Regions from separate parts of the Homo sapiens genome. Here all the other regions are linked to region 1. Evidence: promoter capture Hi-C in 16 types of primary human blood cells and fetal thymus (Javierre and others, 2016). All regions are on one chromosome and are shown on one strand. The core of a region is centred on a gene start or on the middle of the fragment in contact, and the rest is flanking DNA. Distances in the headings are between cores, read along the strand shown. Region 1 holds the start of OCRL (OCRL inositol polyphosphate-5-phosphatase). Region 2 overlaps ZNF280C (zinc finger protein 280C). Region 3 has its middle 15 kb from the start of SLC25A14. Region 4 overlaps ZNF280C (zinc finger protein 280C). Region 5 overlaps SLC25A14 (solute carrier family 25 member 14).

Region 1 (2,700 bases), core at 83-2,582:
TGAGATAAGATATTAGTGACAATAGAGTGAGGTTAGCAGCTATGGTGATAGCTTATCAAAATAATCTTTTGATCAATCAGTCAACAGTATTTACGGAGCTCCTATGGCAGAGAGGAAGGTGACACACTGATAAAATACTGTCATTTCTATCTCTACACATTTCATTACCTTTTCTTTCTAACAGTAAAGTCAGTAAGTGAGGCAGTTTCTGGCCTACACTAAACCATTACTGAATTAATGAATATGCCTTCAACCCAGTGGGATAAGGGGACGGGGAGACTGGAGAAACCAGCTGAATAGGGTTAAGACAAGTCTGTAACGTTAACAATGAAGCATTTCCATAGCACTTTTACTTTTTGGAAGCCACTCTCGCATTTATTTTTCCCCCAGTTATAATTCCAAAGGCTGTAAGGTAAGGCAGTTAATGGTTTTATTAAACTGAAGAGTTAACTTTGGCCCAGAAAGCTTTATTGACTTGCCCAACGTTACACAACACATGTCAGTTGCAGGGGCAGGAACTAAGAACCCAGGCTTCCTGCTTCCCCGCCCATTCAGTCCTTCCACTGAGCCACACTGCCAAGCACAATCCAGAGGCTTGGAAGTTGGGGACAAAGCCCCGAGGTTAGAGAGCACTGGCACTTCACACCTGGACCTGAACCTGTTGCCCGCGTGGCTTCAGTAGGAGGACAGTGGGTGACCCGTCGCGGTTTGGGGTTGGGAGGTAATGGCAGGCTCCCCTCCTCTGTGGGAATCAGGTGGTTACTTACTCATATTGCCCGTTCCTCTGGGCTAGGGTCAGGGCGCAGGGCTCCCGGAGAGGACCCTTCATCTCCATACCCTCGACAGTATGCGGGCGCTAGTCAAGGGTCTCCTTCGGAAGCGCGGTGGGGAGGAGTGGTGCACTGCGGGGCGAAGGGGGTCTTCCACCCCCCCCCCACCGCCGCCCTCCCCCGCCCCGCCCCGCCCTGCTTCGTCTCCCGCGCCGGCCCCCTCCCCCTCTCTGCTCGGCCTCTGGGCCACCCGGTTGCCCCGCCCCACCGTGTTCCGCAGGGCCCCCGACCCCCACCCCCGGCCCTGCGCGGCCTCCCCTCTCCCTTCTCTCCGGCGGATACGGCAAGCGGCTGGGCTCCGACCGGGAGCGGCGGCTCCATCCAGGCGGCCTCCGGGCTCAGCAGGACAGCGGACTGCGGGCCGATCCGACGACACTGGCTCCCGCGTCCCCACACCCACCCACCTCGGCTGCGTGTCGTTTGAGGAACAGCTCCGCGCCGGGCGCCGGGCGCCGGGAGCCGGGAGCGGGGAGCTGGGAGCTGAGAATCTGACCCAAGAGAGAGCGGCGCCTCGCGCCCCCGCCAGTTTTCCAGGCCGCCGCAGATTCCGTCCCCTGCGGTCAAACTGCGGAACTGCAGCGAGAGACCTGACGGACTGGGGGCGTCTCTACCAGGTCCAGCAAGGAATGGGTTTTAAATGCCACCTGTGACATCAAAATTGTTCTGAGGACTTTGAAGGCCACAGAAACAAAACACAGTCATACCTATGGGAGATCTCAAACCTGTTGTGTCAATACGACCCACATCATTCAGTAAAAAAATACATATATATATATATATATATTTCTTAAGGTTATAATGTCCCGTGTTGGTTATCCTACCATTTCCTTTCCTCTTCTTTCTTCCACGCCCTAAATCGGAGAATTCCCCAAAGCCCAGACCTTTGCTCCTCCTCTGCGTCCCCTCCAGTTCACCTCTAACTAGACAATGTCCAAATATATATCCCTGGCCCAGACCTCTTACCTAATAGAGTCCATTGTTAACACATCACTGCGTCACAAAACTAACTCATTATCATTTCACTGGAAAGCCATATATCGTCTTCCCCCTCCTCATCTCTATATCCAATCAGTCAACACACCCTGTTAATATTTTACGTGGAATTACTTTTAGATTCCTTATTTTCTCTCCATTCACACTGCCATAACTTTATTGTAAGCCCTTGTGATAGCCTATCTGGGTTATTGCACTTTTCTTTAAATAAATCCTGTTGGGTTTACTCTTTCCTTTGACATGTTTACTCTGTTGACAGCCATAAAAATATTTTTCCCAAAGTAATTTTTCGATCGTGTTATTCATTTGCTCCAGAATCTATAATACACTAGATATCAAGAGTGACTGTAAATCTGTAGTAATTAAAAGTATGCTGTGGAGATAGACAATCAATGAAACACAATATAAACCCCTCAAACAGACCACACATATACGGAAGGTTGATATGCAGCGTGTGGGACATTTCAAATCAGTGGGGAAAGAATGGATTATCCACTAAGTGGTACTAGGACTACTGCTTATCCATATGGAAAATTATAAAAATTAGACCCCTACCTCAAACCATGGAAGAAAAATCAGTTCCAGGTGGATTAAAGATCTAAATGTGAAAAGCAAAACTTTATAACTTTCAGAAAAAAAAATTGAGTATGAGCTTGGAATATGGAATGAGAATAAGACATTTAGCTACATGAAATTTCAAAATGTATGTACTTTAAGACAATATAAACAAGTTAAAAGACAAACTGGCCTGCACAGTGGCTCATGCCTGTAATCCCAGCACTTTGGGAGGCCGAGGTGGTAGGATCACTTGAGCCCAGGAGTTCAAGACCAGCCTGGGAAACGTGGCAAAACCCTGTCTCTACAAAAACTATAAAAA
Region 2 (2,700 bases), core at 103-2,602, 670 kb before region 1:
AATTTACTATCCCAAGTTTCTGAAGCCCATGGAGTTCTCTTGATCTGCCACTATACATCCTAGCTTCCGGAGAGTCCACCTTTTGCAGTTTACCAGTCTGCCTCTTCCACTACTACAGTGGTTCTGCACCTATACCCCAGTTTCTCTAAAGCAGACCCTAGCCAACCCTTCCCCCAGTACACTGCTGTGATTAATATTGTTCTCTTATTCTGTGCTAAACACTTGGCTGCCCTAGTGAGGCTTTAATTCTGCCACTAATTTATAGAGGATTAAATTGGAAAATATTTTTGGCATTACTTAAACCCATGTGTCATTCCGTCCTCCCCTCTCCCATTTTCCATAGGCTCACCAACTGTCTTGTAGAACCTTCAGCCCCATTCTATCCCCAGACATTCCCAATTGACCTAAAGTTACCTTCATAACATTTTCCTAATTTCTGGTGAGCCCCTGCACTGTCATCACACACATTGAGCTCTTACTCATCATTAACCTCATCTAGAACTGAAAGCTTCCACTTCTACTCTTCTGAGGGCCTCGTAGGTCCCTTTGCTTTTCCCCTACTTCAAGGGTACACTGTTTCCCTCATTGCTTCAGGTACCTTCCTCTGAATGGTGCACCCTCACTCCTACTCGGTGTGGACTTTTGTCATAGGTTTGAGTTCTGTATGTTCAGAGGCTTCATTTTCTCAGAGGTTGAGTACCTTTATTCCCAGGCTATGCCAACTCTTATGAGAAGACAGGCCCTCAAAATTGATCTATCTTCCCCAATGTATAGGCTCTTCATATTCAGTATCTAAAGTAGTTTTTCTTATTCTTGATTATTCTCTGAAATGCCCCTCTCCTTCCTCTCGTTTCACCCTCTGTGAAGTATCTGATCAGCACAGCCAGTCACAAGAATCATTCCTTTCTTTGAGTTCCGTAACATTCTGCTCTTCTGCCTCACATGTGTCTCTATTACCTCTTTGAGAAAGAAGCTCTTTCGTTGTATTCACCATGGTGCCTATTCTGAGGATGTTTTCTTGGAATTACAGCTAGCCAGAATCTTTATTTTCCCATGCATATATAGTAAGCTGGTGATGGTTACCTTGTGTCTGAGGGTAACTGTTGACCTGCTGTGTTGGGTCTGTCAGTGCAAGATAGGGCTAGTGCTTCTCAAACTAGCTTGCATAAGAATCAGCTGGAAAACTTGGGAAAACAGATTTCTGGGCCCCACTGCCAGAGATTAGTTCACTATGTTTGCAGTAAGGCCTGAAACTTTGTGTTTCTAACAAGCTTCTAGGTGATGCTGATGATGCTGGTCCATGGACCACACTTTGAGTAATACTGTGCTAGGCTAATCCTGGCTAATCTTGCCTGGTTGTCTAACACAGGAAGGCTTTCCTTATCATTTTAAAGGGAGGCATAAAAGCTATTACCATTGGCTGTGAAGCTTGATTAGTGGTTTTCTGATCTGTGTGTAGGAGAAGCATTGTTTTAATTCATGAGCTCTGCTCCTTAATTTGCTCTCTTTGAAAGTTCTCCTGGTAATTGCAAAGGACTCTTTAAATGTTTCATGTTTATTGAATTAAGCAATGGCCTTTATCTCAAGTAGTGTTTACTTCCAGGATCATTCAGATTATCCCCCTCCCCAAACATATTAAGATTAAAATGTAATAAGTAATTATTATTTTCCAGCCTGGGTGACAGAGCAAGACTGTCTGAAACAAAAAATAATAATTATTATAACAATTTCTATCATAGCAAAATACATTATCAAATATCCTTTAAATTGTTCTCTTAATAGTTAAAAAACTTTAATTTGACACTGCATTTTTAACTCAAGCATTGTTTTTAGTAATGGTGAGGTACTGATCATCTAAGAAAATTCTCAGGGAAATATGTCATTAGAAAATATAAAGGTAAAGTGGAATGTAAGTTAAAATTCTTGAATTAAACAGAGATGACTGTCTTCGTCCATTCAGGCTGCTATAACAAAATACCATAGACTGGGTAGCTTATAAACAACAGAAATTTATTTCTCACAGTTCTGGAGGCTGGAAAGTCCACGATCAAGGTGCCGGCAGATTCGGTGTCTGGGTGAGGGCCCATTCCTCATAGACAGCACCTTCTCACTGCGTCCTCACATGGTGGAAGGGGCACACTGGCTCTCTAGGATCTCTTTTATAAGTGCACTAATCTCATAAGGGCTCTGCCCTCATGACCTAATCACCTCCCAAAGGCCCCACCTCTTAATGCCATCACTTTGGGGGTTAAGATTTTAACATGAATTTTGGGGTGACACAGAAATTCAGATTATAGCTTTAACCAACAGAATTTTATTATTTAGATCATGATCTTTTATTCAAAACTAAGAAATTAAGCATTGGCTTGAAATGTGGTCAGAAAATTAATATGGTGTTGTATAATAAAATTAATAAAATCTTGTTTGTCTCGTGTTTCTCCAGCTCTCATAGCAACCATCCAGGTAAACGGTTTTGTATTTTCAAGAAGCATTCAGGAACTCTCAGGTAATCATTGATCTTTTTTTTTTCTTTCAATTGAAATATTGCAGTAACTTTTTAAAACTTGATGTTGGAGTGCCTGCTTTGGAAATGATAGAGTTCTGTTTATTATGTCCTTGGACCAAAGTTGGAGGGATAGCCTATCATCTCTGACTAAACTCTGTAGTGCCAAGCATTAAGATGAAACCTTCATGTATTTG
Region 3 (2,700 bases), core at 118-2,617, 780 kb before region 1:
TATCCATTCATCCCACTTCTATTCAGTATGATACTGAATAGAAGAAATTCTAGTCAGTATGATACTGAATAGAAGAAATTCTAGTCAATGAAATAAGGCAAGAAAAAAAGGCATTCAGATTGGAAAGGGAAAACAATAAACTCTCATTATTCATGGATAACATGTTGTCCAAACAGAAAAGCTTCTAGAATGTTGTATAAATAATCTACAACTAATAAGTGGGCTTAGTAAGGTCACAGAATATAAAGTCAATACACAAGAATCAATTGTACTTTTATATATTAGCCGTGAATAACTGGACATTTTAAATTTTAAAAATATTTAAAACAGCATCAGACATATAGAATATTTAGGGATAAATGTGACGCAAAATGTGCAAGATCTGCACATTGAAAACTATAAAAGATTACTAAGAGAAATTAAAGAAAACTTAAATAGGAAGATATACTATACTCACGGTTTGGAAGACTCAATAGTATGAAAATGTCAATTCTTCTCAAACTGATCAATAGATTCAACACAATACCAACCAAAATCCCAGGAAACTTCCCTATAAAACTCACAAGCGGATTCTAAAATTCTTAACTGATATGCAAAGGATCTGAAATACACAAAAAAATTTTGAAAAAGAATGACAAAGTTAAAAGAATTACACTACTTGATTCAAGATTTATTATAAAGGTAATTAAGACAGAGTAGCATTGACAGAAGGAGAAATACATAGATCAATGGAGTAGGATAAAGGGTCCAGAAACTGACCCACAAATAAGGTGAACTTATTTTCAACTGAGATGACAAGGCAATTCAATGAGAGAAAAAACATTTTCAACAAATAATGCTGTCAAAATTCAATAACCTTGTCAGGCACGTTGACATACACCTGTAGTCCCAGCTACTTGGGAGGCTGAGGTGGGAGGATTGCTCAGGAATTTGAGGCCAGCCTGGGCAACATAGAGAGACCCTTATCTCTAAAAAAATAAATAAATATAAAAAATTCTGAATAATCTCATGCAATAAAAACACAACTTAGACCCGTATTTTATGCCATATAAAAAATAAAATCTCAATGAAGCATAGACCTAAAGGTTAAGAGTTTAAAAACTATTTCTTGAGACTGTTATGTAGCAAACTAAATTCCTAACTGATATAGAAGAATTCCATGGTGTAAAAAATATATGAAGAAGTATATTCCTTTTGTAAATGTTTATAATTTGCAATAACCTATTAAAACTCAGAAATCCAACAACAAATAAATTTAATTTTGTTTAACCCAGTAATACACAAGTATATTTGTCCATGAAGCTCTTTATTTGCATATTAGTAATAGTCTATGAAACAATTTCAAAACCACGATCTTGTTCAAGACTTTTGCTCTAAATATGAGAAATCTAATGCCTAGAGAGAGTAATTCACTTGAGAGAAATGGGAGATGTCTCCAACCATAAATCCTCTGCTTTTTGTATTACACAATAGATTATCATTTTCAGTGGCATGGAATATGCCTTGAAGGTTTCATAAGCAAGTGTTGCTTCTACTTCTGTGCCTCTACTACGTTTTGGGCCATCCCTATTATAGTGTTAATTATCCTATAGTACAATAATCTGTCTTTTTCATGAGACTGAGCACTCCTTCTGCCCAGGGAATGATAATGGATCATTTTTCTTTTGCCCAGTTAGTGCCAGTGACTAGAATATAGTGGAATTTCAGTAAATGTTTTACGAATAAAATATAAAGGTGGAGAGGATTCCCATGTGAACAGCTGATATGGTTTGGCTGTGTCTCCACCCAAATTTCATATTGAATTGTAGTTCCCATAATCCCCATGTGTCATGGGAGGGACCTGGTGGGAGGTGATTGAATCATGGGGGCAGTTACCCCCATGCTGCTGTTCTCATGATAGTGAGCGAGTTCTCACAAGATCTAACGGTTTTATAAGGGGCTTTCCCAGCTTTTGCTCAGCACTTCTCTTTGCTGCCGCCATGTGAAGAAGAACGTGTTTCCTTCCCCTTCTGTCATGATTGTAAGTTTCCTGAGGCTTCCTCAGCCATGCTAAATTGTGAATAAATTAAACCTCTTTCCTTTATAATTTACCCAGTCTCAGGTATGTCTTTATTAGCAGCGTGAGACCATTATTAGCAGCATGAGAGAGGACTAATACAACAGCCCAAGAACAAGAGTACAGACATCCAAAAGTTAGAGTACAAGACTCCAAGTTAGGAAGAGACGAAATATTATCTAAGGGAGGAAGTCATGGTTGGTGAGAAATTAAAAATAATATATGCACGACGAGGAAACAGGAAAGTAAACACAATGAGATGTAGCATTATCATAAGTGCAGAAAGATTTTTGGTTCAAGACAACTGGTATATAATTGCATAATCACTAAATAATTGCCTATACTACACACCAAGAATATGCTGTGTTTCGTGCAAAAAAAATCAGCACATTATTACATACTAACCACTTTAAAATCATTATTGCAGTTAGACAGCACTGGATATATATGGGTTTAAGTATCAGTTCAATATGTTGAGAGAAATAATTTCAAGCTTGCTATTCTCAAAATAAAAATGTTAGAATATATGAAAACAAAAGTACATTACAAATGAAGCTAACTTTTTAAAATTTATTTTTTTTTCTATAGTAGGTTCAAGTTCAAGAAGAAGCTAACCATTATATATCACGCTAAACTCTTGACTT
Region 4 (2,700 bases), core at 116-2,615, 690 kb before region 1:
TATATGATGTCTTGATTTTATTCATGAGGTAGATTTCCCCTTCAGATATTTAGGCATTCTAGATAGAATATGTTGAGATATTCAAAATGTAACTGATGCTTTTTTGTGTCCCACACATTTTCTAGCATGGTAAGTCTGGAGAATGGCAGGTTAGCTGTGCTCAAAGTCTAGTTCCAACCAGGCTTCACTTAAATATTACTGTGTTATTTGATAATCAAGCTTATACATAATGGCATGTAAAACTACCTTTTAAGCTTTTTTTTTTTTTTGAGACGGAGTCTTGCTCTGTCACCCGGGCTGGAGTGCAGTGGCGCGACCTCAGCTCACTTCAACCTCCGCCTTACGGGTTCAAGCAATTCTTCTGCCTCAGCCTCCTGAGTAGCTGGGACTACAGACACGTGCCACCACGCCCGGCTAATTTTTTTGTATTTTTAATAGAGACGGGGTTTCACCATATTGGCCAGGCTGGTCTCGAACTCCTGACCTCGTGATCCGCCTGCCTCAGCCTCCCAAAGTGCTGGGATTATAGGCATGAGCCACCACACCCAGCCTAAGCTATTTTTTTTTTAATTATTGTAGATTCAGGGGTACATGTGCAAGTTTGTTAACAAGGGTATATTGCATGATGCTGAGGTTTGGACTTCTACTGATCCTGTCACCCAAATAGTGAACATAGTACCCAATAGGAAGTTTTTCAGCCCCTGCCTTCCTCCCTCCCTCCCAACTTTTGGAGACCTCAGTGTAGTTTCCATCTTTATGTCTGTGTATACCCAATGTTTAGCTTCCACTTACAAGCTTCCACTTATAAGTGAGAACATAAGATATTTAGTTTTTTGTTTCTGTGTTAATTCATTTAGGATAATCGCCTCCAGCTGCATCCATGTTGCTGCAAAGGACGTTATTTCATTCTTTTTTATGGCTGTGTAGTATTCCATAGTGTATGTGTACCACATTTTCTTTATCCAGTCCACTGTTGATGGGCACCTAGGTTGATTCCATGTCTTCGCTATTGTGAATAGTGCTGCAATGAACATACAAGTGTAGGTGTCTTTTTGGTAGAACGATTAATTTTCCAGTGAGTATATACCCAGTGATGAGATTGCTGGGTCAAATGGTAGTTCCATTTTTAGTTCTTTGAGAATCTCCAAACTGTTTCTACAGTGGCTCAACTAATTTACATTCCTACCAGTGGTGTATAAGCATGTAAGCTGTATCTTGACACAGATATGAAATGGGTGATTTTGGGCCAAGAAAAATATTATTATTAAATATTTACATCTAAAAAGAAAAATTGCAAGGAAAAAATATTAGATACATAAACATCCCCTGATCTTAAGGTTTTCAATATTGTTTTTGAAGTTATTCCTTTATTAAGATAGTAGGTGTTTATTGTTTGAATTTTTTTAGAATATGTAAAAATGGAAGCCACAATTTTGGTCAGTATCTTTCTAGATACATTGCCAAGCGTAGTTTTATATCATCTGACCTTAGATGTAAACACAATCATTTTTTGGTATCTAATCTTTAAAAGAGCTGTAGACAAGGCTCATATTTTTTTCCTCTTTCAGCATTGTTGTCCAGACATGATAACTAAATTTTTGGGAGTAATTGTTAAATCAGAACGTCCATGTGATGAAGACAAGACTGATTCAGAGACAGGAAAGTTGATCATGTTAGTCAATGAGTTTTATTATGGAAGGCATGAAGGAGTCACTGAGAAAGAGCCAAAGACTTACACAACCTTTAAATGCTTCAGTTGCTCGAAAGTTCTTAAAAATAATATTAGGTATGTAAATATTTATTTTTATTTCTGTTTGAAAGTTGGGATATGACAGATAAGAATATAGTATCTTTACATTGCTCTGCCATCCTCGGTAATTAATTCTAATACTTTCTACTAAGAACAGTGGCAGATTATCATGTTGAAAAGCTTTTGTTCCTTCTTGTATTTTAAGAGTTTGACTCCAGGATCCACCTAGTTGTTTTGTTTTCAGATAGCTTAAGAAAAGACAAAATGTATTTTAATTTAGGGGAAAACTACTTATTTTCCCTACATTTATTACTGAACTAGACGGTTTCATGAAAAACTTATATTTTCTAGCTGACTTTGAATCTTACTTTTCTTCATGTCACAAGAAGAACCCTATGCAGCATGACCTCCTCCATACTAACCTTATTTAAAGCTCAAATTTTTCCATTTTAAAATAAATTGCAGGCGTTTACCAAAACCAAAGAGAAGTGTTTTGGAGGTGTGAAAAAAGATAAAAACCCAAACCTTCACAATGATTGCTATGTAGGTTGATGACATTATCACTTTGTTTCAAGATTATTTTCTTTAGTGATTCATAATAATTGTAAGTAGTTGACCCAGTCTTAAAACTGTTGTTTACATTGAATAACTTTACTTTGAAATTCAGCAAAAAGTTTTAGTAAGCCCTTTGAAAATGGTATGTCCATTTATATTGTACTCTCTGCCATTGAACATCATAGTTCCTTCTCTTCAGAAGCCTTTCAGAGAAGCTAAAATAGCAGAAGGTAAAACTGAAAAATAGACAGTGCTACAAAGGGCACAGCCTGCTAAGAAAAATGAATAGTTTGTGCTAACAGTAAGCCAGTATAATTAGATAAAACAAAAGGTTCTTGTAATTATAGTCATTAAAATTGCTATTGCATGCATTTAGAAACCAAGACACAAATAAA
Region 5 (2,700 bases), core at 179-2,678, 820 kb before region 1:
TTGGAGAAAAGAAAGATCAAGTACTCAGCAGGACTAAAAAATGACTCATTTAGTGAAAAATTAGAAACAACTTAATATCCAAAAACAACTACACAGGTTGGTTACAGAAATTATACATTCATTTAATAGAATACTATGGAGCCATAAAATTTTGTTGTACAATGGTATTTGCTGACACTGAAAGATATCAAAAATTAATTGCTAACCAGAAAAAAAATTGCGAAGTACTATATCATTTTTATAAAAAACATGTAAACTTAAAAATATCCATAAGCACAGCAAAGAGACGAGGTGAACATATAAAACTAAATACTTACAGTGGTTTATGTCTGAGTGGTGAGGCTACAAGTAAGCATTTTTCTCTTTTGTGTTTTTTCTGCCTTCCATATTTTTCTACATTAAACATGCATTGCTTACGTAATTATAAAAATGAAAAATGTGTTTTAAAATATAATTTTATGTTTATGAGACCTTAAGTTGAGTTCTATTTATAAAAAGCATAATATTATATTCTGCCAAGTGGCCTTTGAGAGCTGCAAGAAGGAAAGATAGCATTAAATGGCCATGTAAAAGGTTTGGTACAATTTCCCACAGACTCTGCACACATACAATCCTAGTAGTCAGTCACTAAATACTAGCGGCCCAAATGTAGGCCTGATTTTTATGAAGCACCATGCTACCATTCTAGGTTTCAACAAATGTCTTTAGTAAGTCATGTAATGGCAACATGCTTTTATGCAGAAAGTTAACTGTTACTACTAAGAGTTTTCAAATATTATAATTATAAAAACCTAAACCCATTAAATCAAGATACAACCTATCACAAAGACAAATGAAAACTACTAATACACTGTGGTAAGTAGAACACTTCTTTAAGGAGGTGATTCCTGACAACAGAGGGGCTAGCGTGAGGCAAGTGAAGTACTTTTCTTAGGCATGAAATGTAAGGGAGTGCAAGAAAAACTCAGTAATCAAGATAAATGATGTCTCAATATGATATTTTTTAACCAAAATTAATCCACAAAAAGCCATAATGAATCAAATATCAAATTTAACTAAAGCTAGGACTCAACAGGGCCAGGATTAGGGTAAGGTGAATGAGATGAGTTATGTGAAATTTTGGTATTTGGTTCATCATGAATTTTTTGCGTTAATTTTGATTGTTTAAAAATACTACATACAAATGTTGTTTATATTGATTACTGAGTTTTGTGGCACCTTCTTACATTCTGCATCAAAGGGGACTGCCTTACTTGTTTTGCCCTAGTCCTGGCCCTGTTTATGAGCCTGGTCTTGAAGGACAAATTCACCAGGAAAATGAGAAAGACGTTTCAGGAAGAAAGTGTTACGTGCACAAAGGCAAAGAAGCAGTACATAGTAGATCAGATATGGATTTCGATAGATCTCTCCAGCTTCATCTGGAGATGGGTTGAGGGAGTGGGGTACACACTAGAGTGAAGGGACAAGTTAGGAGGCTACTGAGATGAGGTCCTACAAAAGGAATGGTGGGGAAAGGACAAAGTTGAGAAATACAGATGAGGCAAAATCTGTAGAAACTTGATACCTAATCCAATACTAGAAGGAAGCAAAGATATAGAAGAATCAAAGATGATCTAGGTTTCTAGTTTAGATGACCCAGTAGGTCTGGGTAGTGTGGTAGATTATTGTCTCCCAAAATCTACTCTCCTTTCTTGAAGCTAGATGTAGCCATGGAACCAAGTCCTTCAGAATGGAACGTGAACAGAAATAATGGTTGAAACTTCCCAGTGTCTTGCTTAAAAGGAAATTGCCTATATTTCAGAACAGCCAAACAGCCCCACTAAATGAGAAAAAGTTGTCCTTGGCCAGGCGCAGTGGCTCACGCCTGTAATCCCAGCACTTTGGGAGGCCGAGGTGGGCGGATCACCTGAGGTCAGTAGTTTGAAACCAGCCTGGCCAACATGGCGAAACCCCGTCTCTACTAAAAATACAAAAATTAGCCAGGCGTGGTGGTGTGCACCTGTGTAATCCCAGCTACTCGAGAGGCTGAGGCAGGAGAATTGCTTGAACCCAGGAAGTGGAGGTTGCAGTGAGCCGAGATCATGCCATTGCACTCCAGCCTGGGCAACAGAGCGAGACTCCATCTCAAAAAAAAAAAAAAAAAAAAAAAAAAAGATTGCCCTTGCAGAAGAATTCTAGCTAAGAAACATGGATGGAATGATGGAATTAGAAAATCACCACTTTGCGACCTTAAATGAAACAATCAATTCAGGTAATGGCCACCAATGGATGAAACCATTAGATGAAGGATTGACAGGAAACTACAAAGGAGAAATCGGGCTGTCACGCCTGAACCCACTGATCAACCTTAACATCCCTATATTGGGACAACCAAACACTGTGTGCCTCCTCACATGACTCGGTATGACCTTTACAGAAACCTTCCCTTTTACAGAGAGAGAAGATTTAGAGAAATAAGTTAAATGATATCACAAGGAAGCAAAAAGACAAATCCAAAACTTGGGAATTCTAAAGGAGAGCTGATCCCATTTATTTGACAAGTTAATGGCAAAAAGCAAATAAATAAATAAATAAATAAAAGGTATATGGACAGGAGTGGGGTACTCTAGAATAAAAAGGACTTAAGAAACATAACTATTAAATATAATGCATAGGCTTTGGAACCCAAGTTAAACAAATCAACTGTAAAATATAAGACAG

Evidence for each region. The method cuts DNA at HindIII sites, captures the fragments that hold promoters and counts their contacts. A CHiCAGO score of 5 or more calls a contact.
Region 2: a contact is called between a fragment that was not itself captured here and the fragment with the promoter of OCRL in region 1, in 4 of 17 cell types (activated CD4 T cells, M1 macrophages, total B cells and 1 more). The highest score is 6.8, in activated CD4 T cells.
Region 3: a contact is called between a fragment that was not itself captured here and the fragment with the promoter of OCRL in region 1, in 3 of 17 cell types (activated CD4 T cells, M2 macrophages and M0 macrophages). The highest score is 8.3, in activated CD4 T cells.
Region 4: a fragment that was not itself captured here is called in contact with the fragment with the promoter of OCRL in region 1 in 1 of 17 cell types (activated CD4 T cells); the score reaches 5.1 in activated CD4 T cells.
Region 5: a contact is called between a fragment that was not itself captured here and the fragment with the promoter of OCRL in region 1, in 4 of 17 cell types (neutrophils, activated CD4 T cells, monocytes and 1 more). The highest score is 7.9, in neutrophils.

The regions. Positions count from the first base shown.
Region 1 is chrX:129,538,891-129,541,590 of GRCh38, reverse strand. OCRL (OCRL inositol polyphosphate-5-phosphatase) reads right to left here and starts at 1,332. Exons shown (of 24, transcript NM_000276.4): 1 at 1,113-1,332; 2 at 768-847. The coding sequence starts at 1,151. RefSeq lists silencers at 1,119-1,318, 1,429-1,488 and an enhancer at 1,205-1,499. The HindIII fragment of the contact is 8,325 bases long and covers 468-2,700 here.
Region 2 is chrX:130,209,459-130,212,158 of GRCh38, reverse strand. ZNF280C (zinc finger protein 280C) reads left to right here. Exons shown (of 19, transcript NM_017666.5): 16 at 2,444-2,506. Among named protein-coding and RNA genes, the nearest start is that of RAB33A, 39 kb to the right of the region's middle. The HindIII fragment of the contact is 157 bases long and covers 1,274-1,430 here.
Region 3 is chrX:130,323,535-130,326,234 of GRCh38, reverse strand. No RefSeq gene overlaps it. Among named protein-coding and RNA genes, the nearest start is that of SLC25A14, 15 kb to the left of the region's middle. The HindIII fragment of the contact is 2,368 bases long and covers 184-2,551 here.
Region 4 is chrX:130,229,596-130,232,295 of GRCh38, reverse strand. It overlaps ZNF280C (zinc finger protein 280C), which reads left to right. Exons shown (of 19, transcript NM_017666.5): 9 at 1,569-1,786. Among named protein-coding and RNA genes, the nearest start is that of ZNF280C, 38 kb to the left of the region's middle. The HindIII fragment of the contact is 1,135 bases long and covers 798-1,932 here.
Region 5 is chrX:130,355,671-130,358,370 of GRCh38, reverse strand. The region is part of intron 6 of SLC25A14 (solute carrier family 25 member 14); the gene reads right to left. Among named protein-coding and RNA genes, the nearest start is that of SLC25A14, 17 kb to the right of the region's middle. The HindIII fragment of the contact is 3,436 bases long and covers 1-2,700 here.